Regions from separate parts of the Homo sapiens genome. Here region 2 is linked to region 1. The links are contacts of gene promoters, found by promoter capture Hi-C in blood cells and fetal thymus (Javierre and others, 2016). All regions are on one chromosome and are shown on one strand. Each heading gives the region's core, a stretch centred on a gene start or on the middle of the fragment in contact. The rest is flanking DNA. Distances are from core to core; before and after follow the strand shown. Region 1 overlaps ATP2B2 (ATPase plasma membrane Ca2+ transporting 2). Region 2 holds the start of TTLL3 (tubulin tyrosine ligase like 3).

The links. Contacts are between HindIII fragments. The CHiCAGO score rates a contact against its expected background, and 5 or more counts as called.
Region 2: the fragment with the promoter of TTLL3 here is called in contact with a fragment that was not itself captured in region 1 in 8 of 17 cell types (erythroblasts, fetal thymus, total CD4 T cells and 5 more); the score reaches 7.8 in erythroblasts.

Annotation. Positions count from the first base shown.
Region 1 is chr3:10,326,556-10,331,404 of GRCh38, reverse strand. ATP2B2 (ATPase plasma membrane Ca2+ transporting 2) reads left to right here. Exons shown (of 23, transcript NM_001001331.4): 23 at 2,280-4,849. The coding sequence ends at 2,591. It overlaps MIR378B (microRNA 378b), which reads right to left and starts at 1,176; the gene lies at 1,120-1,176. RefSeq lists an enhancer at 2,573-3,121. The HindIII fragment of the contact is 4,701 bases long and covers 488-4,849 here.
Region 2 is chr3:9,808,276-9,813,124 of GRCh38, reverse strand. It overlaps TTLL3 (tubulin tyrosine ligase like 3), which reads right to left and starts at 2,863. Exons shown (of 14, transcript NM_001387446.1): 1 at 2,731-2,863; 2 at 2,416-2,504; 3 at 14-182. The coding sequence starts at 2,463. ARPC4-TTLL3 (ARPC4-TTLL3 readthrough) reads right to left here. Exons shown (of 12, transcript NM_001198793.1): 5 at 14-182. RefSeq lists a silencer at 2,682-3,161 and an enhancer at 3,642-3,791. The HindIII fragment of the contact is 3,571 bases long and covers 1,505-4,849 here.

The DNA.
Region 1 (4,849 bases), core at 1,589-4,088:
TCTGAATTGCACTTCAACCTCAGAACACACTGAGCACCAGGCTAGGCAGCTACAGCCTTGATGCTATTCCCATTCTACAAACAAGAAAGCTGAGGCCTGCAGCGCCTTCTTTGTTTTCAGTTAATCAAGGTGTAACGGCTCACTTTTCAGGAGATCAGAATATGAACCATCTCTGCAGAGCCACAAAGAGGGACTCCAGGGGGAAAGAGCTCAGAGCAGCCACAGTGGCCATGATGGAGCACCAGCATAAAGGCCGTGTCTGGCTGGCTCTTATTTGGCACTTGTTGCCTCTTATTTAAAGCACAATTCCAGCAAGTGGGGTACCCTGGAGTCCCAGCTCACAGTATGCAAGGTGAAAGGACAGAGGTGCTTTTCAGAAAACAGAAAAGTCAGCACTAACTAGTAAGCGATGACTGACAGCAAGGGAGAAAAAACAAGACAATCCATGGGGTCTTACCTAAGACCAAGAAGGATAATTGACAAAGCTTATGTTAAATTCTTCTCTGTGCACTCTAAATTAGAAGTCAGAGGAGCGTATGACATGCTTTAGAAAGAATTCCCTCTGCAACAGTAAAACAAACCTTCAGCGATGACACTTAAAATCATCAACCACAGTCACCTAGAAACTCCACTTCCATAAAAGAGGGCTTTCCCCACCAGGGTTTCACAAAGGAGCTACCCCTGGGTTCCGCTGAGAGCTCAAGTCCTGGGACTTCAGGGGCCTCCCCACGACCGTCTCGTCCAGTCCCCTGCCTCCCCGCAGGCCTGTGGTGCAGGGCAGCCACTGCTCTGCAGGTGGGTGCCACTTGGCCTGCACACAGCAGCCGACTAAGGCTCTGTCCTGGAGGCGCCAACGCCGCCTTGTTTTCTCCACCTCTGACTCCACTCCGAGTTGGGGCTGGGACGAGAGGAGGAGGCACCTTTGTCCCAAGTCCCATCAGACTCTTGAGATGACAGGCACTGCTGCCCCTCCCAGGAGTCCAGAGAAGGGACACCTCTCTTCCAAGTGAGGGTCCCGTCCCTCTGCACCCTGTGAGGCAGGACAGAGGACAACCAGAGAGCTAGTGTGGCTTGTCCACAGTCAAGGCACCAGATGTGGCAGAGCCAGGATGCAAGTTGGGTCTTTCTGCCTCCAAGTCCAGTGCTCTTTCCACTAGCCTTGAAGACTCAATGACCAGCCTCCTCCCATTCTTCAGCGGAGGAAACTGAGGCCCCAGGACGTGTGGTTCACAACTGAGACAGAAAATGAAAGAACTTGCTGTTTTGTGACTCAGTTCCACACACCCCAGAATCCCACTGGGGCTGGGTTTGGCCATCTGATTCCAGCCTCGTTTTTTGGTTTTGTGTTTTCAAAGCACAAATAAAGAAATAAACAAAATCCCCCAGGAAATAAGAGACCCCAAAGCAAGCTCCAATAACTGGCCGGCCAGGGCTTTGAGTCTATACTCGAGTGTTTACCTCCCAAATGCATGAAGGAAAGAAACGCTGGGTACAAACGACCTCCGTTCACATTGTCCAGGCTTCCAAGTGTAGCCGTGTGTCTGTCTGTGTGTGCCATGTGGCTCCCGGCCTCCCCGTGGCATGCAGCCCGCCCCCGAATGTCATCTGTCCGCCAGCTCCCATGTGCTTTCTGGCTGCCTCTGCTCTGCACCTCAGAAAGCCCTGGGTTGGCTTTGGTTTGCTTTGCTGCCTTTGGTTTGATGTTCCCGTTCTGTTTGGCCCTCATGTGTCTCTCTCATCCCAACTCATCCAACCGTCTCTCCTTTCTGTGCCTTTTCTGTTTGTGACACGTAACATGTTCCATGTTGTATGGTTTCTTAACTGTGTGTGGTTTTCCTAAGATGAATTTTTTTAATAGCCTCTCCTCTTTCCTACTTGATTCCCACCTGGTCCTCCTCCCTGTCTGCATGGTTGAACCTCTGCTTTAAAGTGAACAAGGCTCAGTCTCTCACTAGGTGTGGGTGCCCGCAGGAGTCGACTGTGCTTCCTTTAACCACTGTTCCCCATCATCTCTTTGATGGTGCTTGGTGATTCCTCCTGTCCTAACACTAGTTTCTACCAAAACCAAAGAGATTTTTAAAAACCAGCTCAAGGATGCCTATAACCTGAGCCCCCTTTTTCACTCTCCCCCATCCTGTCAATGCTAATAACACCCAGCGACTATGGATTCCAGCCACCTGCTTTGCCCTAACCCTTCTCCCACCCGCCCCTCCTGTGAGCCCCCCGAGCCTGGCTGTGGTCCCTGGGCAGTGCTCCTGACCCCTGTGCTTCCCTTGCAGATCCGCGTCGTGAAGGCGTTCCGTAGCTCTCTCTATGAAGGTTTAGAAAAGCCTGAATCTCGAACCTCCATCCATAACTTCATGGCTCATCCTGAATTCCGGATCGAAGATTCCCAGCCCCACATCCCCCTCATTGATGACACCGACCTGGAAGAAGATGCCGCGCTCAAGCAGAACTCGAGCCCGCCGTCATCCCTCAACAAGAACAACAGCGCCATCGACAGTGGGATCAACCTGACGACCGACACAAGCAAATCAGCTACCTCTTCAAGTCCAGGGAGCCCCATCCACAGCCTGGAGACGTCGCTTTAGCTGAGGACCCTCTCGCCTGCCCGCCCGCCCTCATGGACCCCGCTGCCACCCGCTTTCCGGGCACCCATCCATCCAGGCACCCAACTCACCCAAGCAGCAACGAGCAACAATCGGAAACCAAATACTGGAGAGAAAACCAACGTTTCCACCCACAGACCCTTTCTCTGGCTGCGATGCTGTTTGAACTCTTTTTCACTTCAAGGCAAGGGGCGGGATCTCCACTGGGGGCTTACGGGAGTGAGCGGTTTTCCCAAAACAAGCCCTTCCTGGCTCCCACCCAGACATGGACCAGCCATGCACCCGCCCAGCCACCACGTCCCCCGCATGAATGTACTGTACACTTTCAATCCTCCCCTTGTTTGGTTTTTGGGGGTTGGGGAGGGGTTTTTGTTTGTTTGTTTGTTTTCTTAGGCGGGAACTGCAAACAGACTCTTTTCTGAGACTATTTATCCAATCCACTGGTCTGTGAGTTTTTGAAATGCTTGCACAGCATGGTCTCAGTTGTATAGATTAATTTAATAACTTTTTGAAATTGCAGAGCTTAACTCGCCTAGTAGATTTGCACCAATGGAACCGAAGAACTTCATAGACACTCACAAGGTTATATCCATTTCTTTGTATCTATATCAACGTATACTTTTCCGAGACTGTATACGTCCATATAGATAGGTAGATATATATATATATATATAAATATATATACATGGATATATAAAGTTTCTTTGCCGGCATGTTGCCTTGTTTCCGCTTAAATTGCTCTATTTTAACTTATTTATGTCCTAAAAGAAGAATGTAATTTGTTTACAAACCTGTAGATAACGTCTTTGGCTATTTGTATGGTTTAAGAACACTGGTGGCTGAGATGCTATAAAAACAGCTCGGCCCAACAGACACTTCCCCTGGGTTGCATCCTGGATGTTTTATGATAGCCATGCTCTGATTTTTGCCTGCTATTTCCGTTCAATAATGTCACTACCGTGAGAGGCTCAGGCAGAAGCCAAATGCTACCGAGTTGCCATCCTGAGGGGTTTAACAACATGCTCCGTAGACGAAGGGAGAGGAGGAGAGAAGGCTTCCTGGGTTTGCAACACTAACGGCCATCCGGCCCAAGGATGCCAGGATCTGCAAAGCACTGCTCGAAGACTTTTCTCTCAATGAAACTCGCTTGAGTTTACTAAGAGCATTTCAAAAATAGGTTCTCTTTGGCACTGTCTGTACAGAGATTGAGGTAGTGTTGAAATATTATAAATGGTATTGTGTTGATTTTTTTTTTTATTTAGTAACTTACAGGTTTGTTTCCTTATTAATGGCAGCATCTGAGCTGTTGGCATATTGGATGAGGATCAGTATGGCTTGCTGCTTTTATTTTTATTTTTGAAGAAGAATAGCCTTTTTCTCTGCACTATTTAGATCCGAATGAACCTTATGATGTGTATATTGAGATGTACTCAGTGTGATTTTAAACCAAATTGTCTTCCTGTAGTCACAATATATACTGTAGCCTTTTAACAGCAAGTCTTGCTTTCCCAAACAGAAAGCCATTCTGAAACCCTACAGTATCACAGGTGAGAAAAGGTGGTTATTTTTTCCCCAAGACAACAGCACTAGTAATCCCACTTAATAAGAGCTTATTTAATTGGATGTCAGCCTCTTAACTGCTAAGCACTTTGTGGGTCTCAGCGTTTTTCATAAAAGAACTTTTGTATTTAATACAAAGTTTGCTTTGAGACTTTTCAGCATATGATCTTTTTTCCATAAACTTGTACAGTGCAAAAGACATTTTGAATACCATGATCGATGATGTCCCATGCTTCGAGGAAAACCAAACACTTTCCGCCTCTCTTGCAAAATCCATTCCTCATGCTGACCCTCCTCACGATGGCTGTGTCAGCCCAGCCCCTTCCCTTCTCCAGGCCCAGAGAACTCTTCCACAAACAAGATGAGAGCCACTCGGGAAAAGAGCCATAGTCAACTGGGAGGGCCTACATCTGGATGGCGGTGGAAAAACTTGAGGGTTTGGGGTTCAAAGTCAGCCCATCCCACCTGGCAAAATCCTCCTGGAAGGAGGACCTTCAAGAGCGCATCACCTGAATGTCGTGAAGAAGTATCTCTGAATGTATCCAGGAGAGGAACTGCATAACCAAAGGGGTGACCAGCCCTCAGATGTGCTTATTGGATTCCAGTACAAACGCCACCAAAGCCAGCCCACTGCTCTCCTACAAGGAAGGAAAGATCTGCACGTGTAAAACATGGGGCAG
Region 2 (4,849 bases), core at 1,614-4,113, 520 kb after region 1:
AGGAACCACTCACCATCCTCAGTGGTGTCACTGTCACCCATCGCTGAGCTATCCAGATCCTTCTGGGGTGGCAGCAGGGTGGGGCCTGAGCGATGGACCATCTTCTTCTCCACCCAGCCCCTCCGGCGCAAGAGACACCGGATCACCGGGTAGCAGCCTTGGATTGTAAAGATCTTCTTCTGCTGCAATGTGAGAGAAGGATACTTCTTCAATAAGTATTGCATAAGTGCCAGACATAGGGGATATAAAGGTGAACCAGACAGTTATGGACTCTGCCATCAGGAAATTTTTATATTCCATTAGGAGAAATAAACAGACTATAAATAAGTAGAGAAATAAATATGCATGGTAATAATGATAATAGCAATGGCTAATATTTATTGAGGACCTACTACATGCTGAGCACTTACATGCATTACTAACAATACTGTGTGTTTTTATTTTGTTTTGTTTGAGACAGGGTCTCACTCTGTTGCCCAGGCTGAAGTGTAGTGGCACAATCTCGGCTCACTGCACCCTCTTCCTCCTGGGTTCAAGCGATTCTCTTGCCTCAGTCTCCTTGAGTACCTGGGATTACAGGTGTATGCCACCACGCCCAGATAATTTTTTTTTTTTGAGACGGAGTCTTGCTCTGTTGCCCAGGCTGGAGTGGCACAATCTTGGCTCACTGCAACCTCCACCTCCCGGGTTCGAGCGATTCTCCTGCCTCAGCCTCCCCAGTAGCTGGGAGTACAGGCGTGTGCCACTGCGCCCGGCTAATTTTTGTATTTTTAGTAGAGACAGGGTTTCACCATATTGGCCACGCTGGTCTTGAACTCCTGGCCTCAGGCCAAGGCCCGCCTTGGCCTCCCAAAGTGCTGAAATTACAGGCGTCAGCCACCTCATCTGGTGCCCAAATAATTTTTATATTTTTTGGTAGAGACTGGGCTTCACTGTGTTGGCCAGGCTGGTCTCCAACTCCTGGCCTCAAGTGATCCTCCTGACTTGGCCTCCCAAAATGCTGGGATTACAGGTGTAAGCCACCGCGTCTGGCCAATACTATGCATTTTTATTAGATACTGTTATCTCCATTTTACGGGCTATGAAACAGAGGCATAGAGAAATTAAGCAGGGTGCCTGAGGCCCCATAGTGGTTAAGCAAAAGAGCAGGGATTTACATCCTGGCAGTTTGGCTCCAGAAACTGCATACTTAATGGGATCCAGAGAAACTACTTAGAAATACATGGTCAGGGAAGGTTGAAAGGAAGCCATGAATGTACAGAGCTGGGAAATGGCGGTTCAGGCAGAGGGGAATGCATGTGCAAAGGCCTTGAGGCTGGAGAGAGGTCAGAAGGAACTGAAGGGAGACCAGAGTGAGTGGAACATGGAAAATGATGGGGAAAGCCCCAGAGGAGGTAGGCAGTGGCCAGACTGTGGAAGGCCCTGCAGGCCTTGGAACGGACTTGGATTTCATACTAAGAGTGTCATGAGCAAAAAAGGCTAACTGAGGGAATCTTTCTAAGCTTGGCTTGCTGCTGTATTACAAAAAGATGAGGGGACAGGATGGAGGTAGACCAGCTAGGAGGCTGTCATAGTTTGCCTAGGAGAGAAATCACAATTACTAAAATGAAGGTGGTTACAACACAGACGGGAGAAGGTGCTAGAGTTGAGAATCGTTTTGGAGGTGGAGATGACAAGTGGTTTTGCTGATGGAATTAGACCTGTGGGTGAAGAAACAGAAAGATGAGATTTCTGGCGTGAGGAACTGAGAGATGGGAAAGACTGGAGACTGGGGAGGACGACAGGTTTGGGCAGGAAGATCAAAGTCTGGTTTGGGACATGAATTTGAAATGCTTGTTAAGTTTTCTGGGTGTAGATGACAGGTAGGGGCTAGATCTACGGGATGTGGAGTTCGAGGCTGGGCTGGAAGGGGCACGGAGAGGGTGCAGCACACTGACTGGACTCAGCCAAGGACACAGCCAAAGGAGACAGACCTGGGGAAGGGGCCAGGGGGCCACTAATGGCTGAGGAACCTTTAAAGGCCGCTGAAAAGCAGCAGCCAAAGAGGGAGAAAGGAAAACTAGGAGCGTGCAGTCAGACAGCCAAGAGGAAGGGTGTGTGGGGCAGCGGTGTCGAAAGATACAGGGTGCCCAACCGAGATCAAGACCGAAAGGCACTGCTGGGTTTGGCTCCCTGGAACTCACCAGGCACCTTGATTAGAGTGGGACATCGCAGGGAACCAGAGTGGAGGGAGCCCAGAAGTTTGGTGCTGAAGGGGTAAACGGGGAGGTAGTTGAAGATGGGTGTGGTGGTTGAGGATTTTTGCTATTGTTTTTTCTTTTGCTTTTGTTTTTTAAGGATATAAGAAAACAGCGCAGGGAGACAGGCTGAGCCGCTCCCAGGGCCCTTTCTAAGCGCCCCTGCCCCTCCTCTGACCTTGACAGCTCTCTCCACGTAGATTTTGGCGTTTCTGAGCCGGTTCATGTGAGACGCCTTGGAGGATCCTCGCCAGAGGACCGGGAAACCTGCAGAAAGATGCGGAATAGGGGCGGGGTACACTGAGGCTGGGCCTAGGGTCTCGGCCTAGGATCTTTTCTGGCCGCCCATAGCCACGCCTCTTTTCTTCCTCCTGCCTTCATCCAGATGCCCACCCTCAGCCGCTCTTCTCCCGACCCCCAGTCCCTCCACCCCAGCGTCTTGTCGTCCTCGCAGCCGCTGTAGGCCAGAGCGAGCGGGCCGCACGGGCCTCACCATCCTGCGGAGAGGGGTCGAGGACCGGGGTGTGCGGGGGGCCGAGGGGGTGGGTATCCGAGGCGCCCTGGGCGTGGGTGCCTGGGACCAGCGTCTTGAAGGCGCCGCTGAGGCGGCGCGCAGGGGCGGGGCTGCCCGCCTGGCATCTGCCGCCTGCGTGACCCTCCTCGGACTGGGCGGAGGCAGGGCCGGCCCATGGCAGCCTCCTGGGTGGACGGAACTCGGAGCGGCGCGCCGAGGGGAAACTGGTGCGTGGCTCGAGCGGCTGCGGCTTCCGCAGCCAGTTGCACACCGCGCCGCCCTCCTGGCGGTACCAGGAGGCCGAGCCCCGGCGCCCGGGCCCCAGCTCCCTCGCGCTCAGGAGCAGTGGCGCGTCGGGGCCCTGCATGCGCCCCTCGCCGCGCTCGCCCTCCCAGGGCCCCTGATCCCGCGCCCCTCCGCGTCGCCGCCTCCTCTCCCGGGAAGTTCCTGCCTAGGCTCGAGCCTTGTCCTCCGTTCCAAGCCCCGCCCCGTTTGCTATTGCCTTGGAAACCATTCCCTGGGCACCATCAGACCGCTCGGGGCTGGTTGGGGGCTGCGATGGGCCCCGGGGCAGTCGAGCGAGGGCTTCCTTATGACCTGGGGCCTCACCCAGACCCTTGATGAGCAGGGCACTGAAGGCGGAAGAGAGCACTGAGCCCCAGTTAGTTAGTGTTGCGGTTCCTTATCCAGTACTTCCTGGTGCCACCGGCCCTAGGGTTTGAGTGATTCCACAGTATTTATAGGCGCTAACAAATGGCCCCTGACCTCATGGAGCTTACTAAAAGCCCAGTGTGAGGGGAATAAAAAGCAAGTAACAAAGGAAGAGAATAGTTTACAGGTATAATAAGGGCAATGAACAAGCAGAGGTGAAACCAGGAAGGGGGCGCATTTTAGATAAAGTGGCGCATTTAAGCTGAAGGTGTAAATGCCAGGAGTCAGGAGTCACCAGGGAAAGGGGAGGAACTGCACTTCAGGGAAGGGACAGTCCCAGCAACAGCCCTGAGAAGGGTAAGAACCTCTGTGCGAACTACAAGACAGCCAGGGTGGCTGGAGCCTGGTGAGGCCAGATCAGACCTGCTGGGCCTGGCAGATGGGCCTAGGGTAAGGTCCTTAGCGAGGGCAGCATATGGGGGTAACAAGAAGGTGCAGAGCACACCCTCCCCAGAAACTGGAAATGGAAAAACAATCATTTGAGTCAACTGCGAAAGAAATGTAATAGTTCACAACAGTTATGCCTGGCCCCCAGGCTAAGACTGTAAGCAACCTTTTTGGAAGCACTGGCAAAATATTATCCTCAAAAGTCACAGGGGAGGTAAGGCTCCAAGATGTTAAACAATTTGCCTCAAATCACAGAGCAGAGGCAGCACTGGAACCCAGGTCTGACTCCAAAGCCTGTCTCTTAAACACCTGTTATCACTCAGGTTGCCTGCCAGTCACAGAAGGACCACACAGGGACAGTTTGAGAGGCAAACTCTAGCAGTGCCCCCGCAGGCAGAGTCGAAGAGTGTCCTGGTAAGAGCCCAGCTTTGTCAGTCACTGGGTAGATGTGCTCTTAAGAGTGAAGGTGGATCCCCCACCTTCCTGTCCAGCTGACCCCAACTCCCCTTTAGCTGATGGCTGGACTTCCCGAAAAGCATGCCCCCCAGGAAAGGTGATTTAGGGAATTTGGACCCTGGGAGAGAGATACATGACAAATGAGGTTTGTGGCTGGCTCACCCAGGCAATGCTGTCCTGTGAGGGTTGTTGAGTGACCAGCTGCTATATCCTATTAGTCACCCAGTTTCACTGTGAGCACCTTTAACATTCACTGCAAAGCTAGAACATAGCCATGTGCCCTGGAGGAGGGAACACCTAATTCAGAGGGGTGGCGAGGTAGGTCACAGAGGTAATGTCATAAAGGAGATGATAGCACTTTGGGAGGCTGAGGCGGGGGGATCACCCAAGGCAGCCGAGGCAACATAGTGAGACCTAAAAAAAAACAAAAACCAAAAACAAAAAAATTAGCTGGGCGTGGTGGCACAGGCCTGTGGTCCCAGCTACTCAGGAAGCTGAGGTGGGAGAATCACTTGAGCCTGGGGAAGCTGAGGCTGCAGTGAGC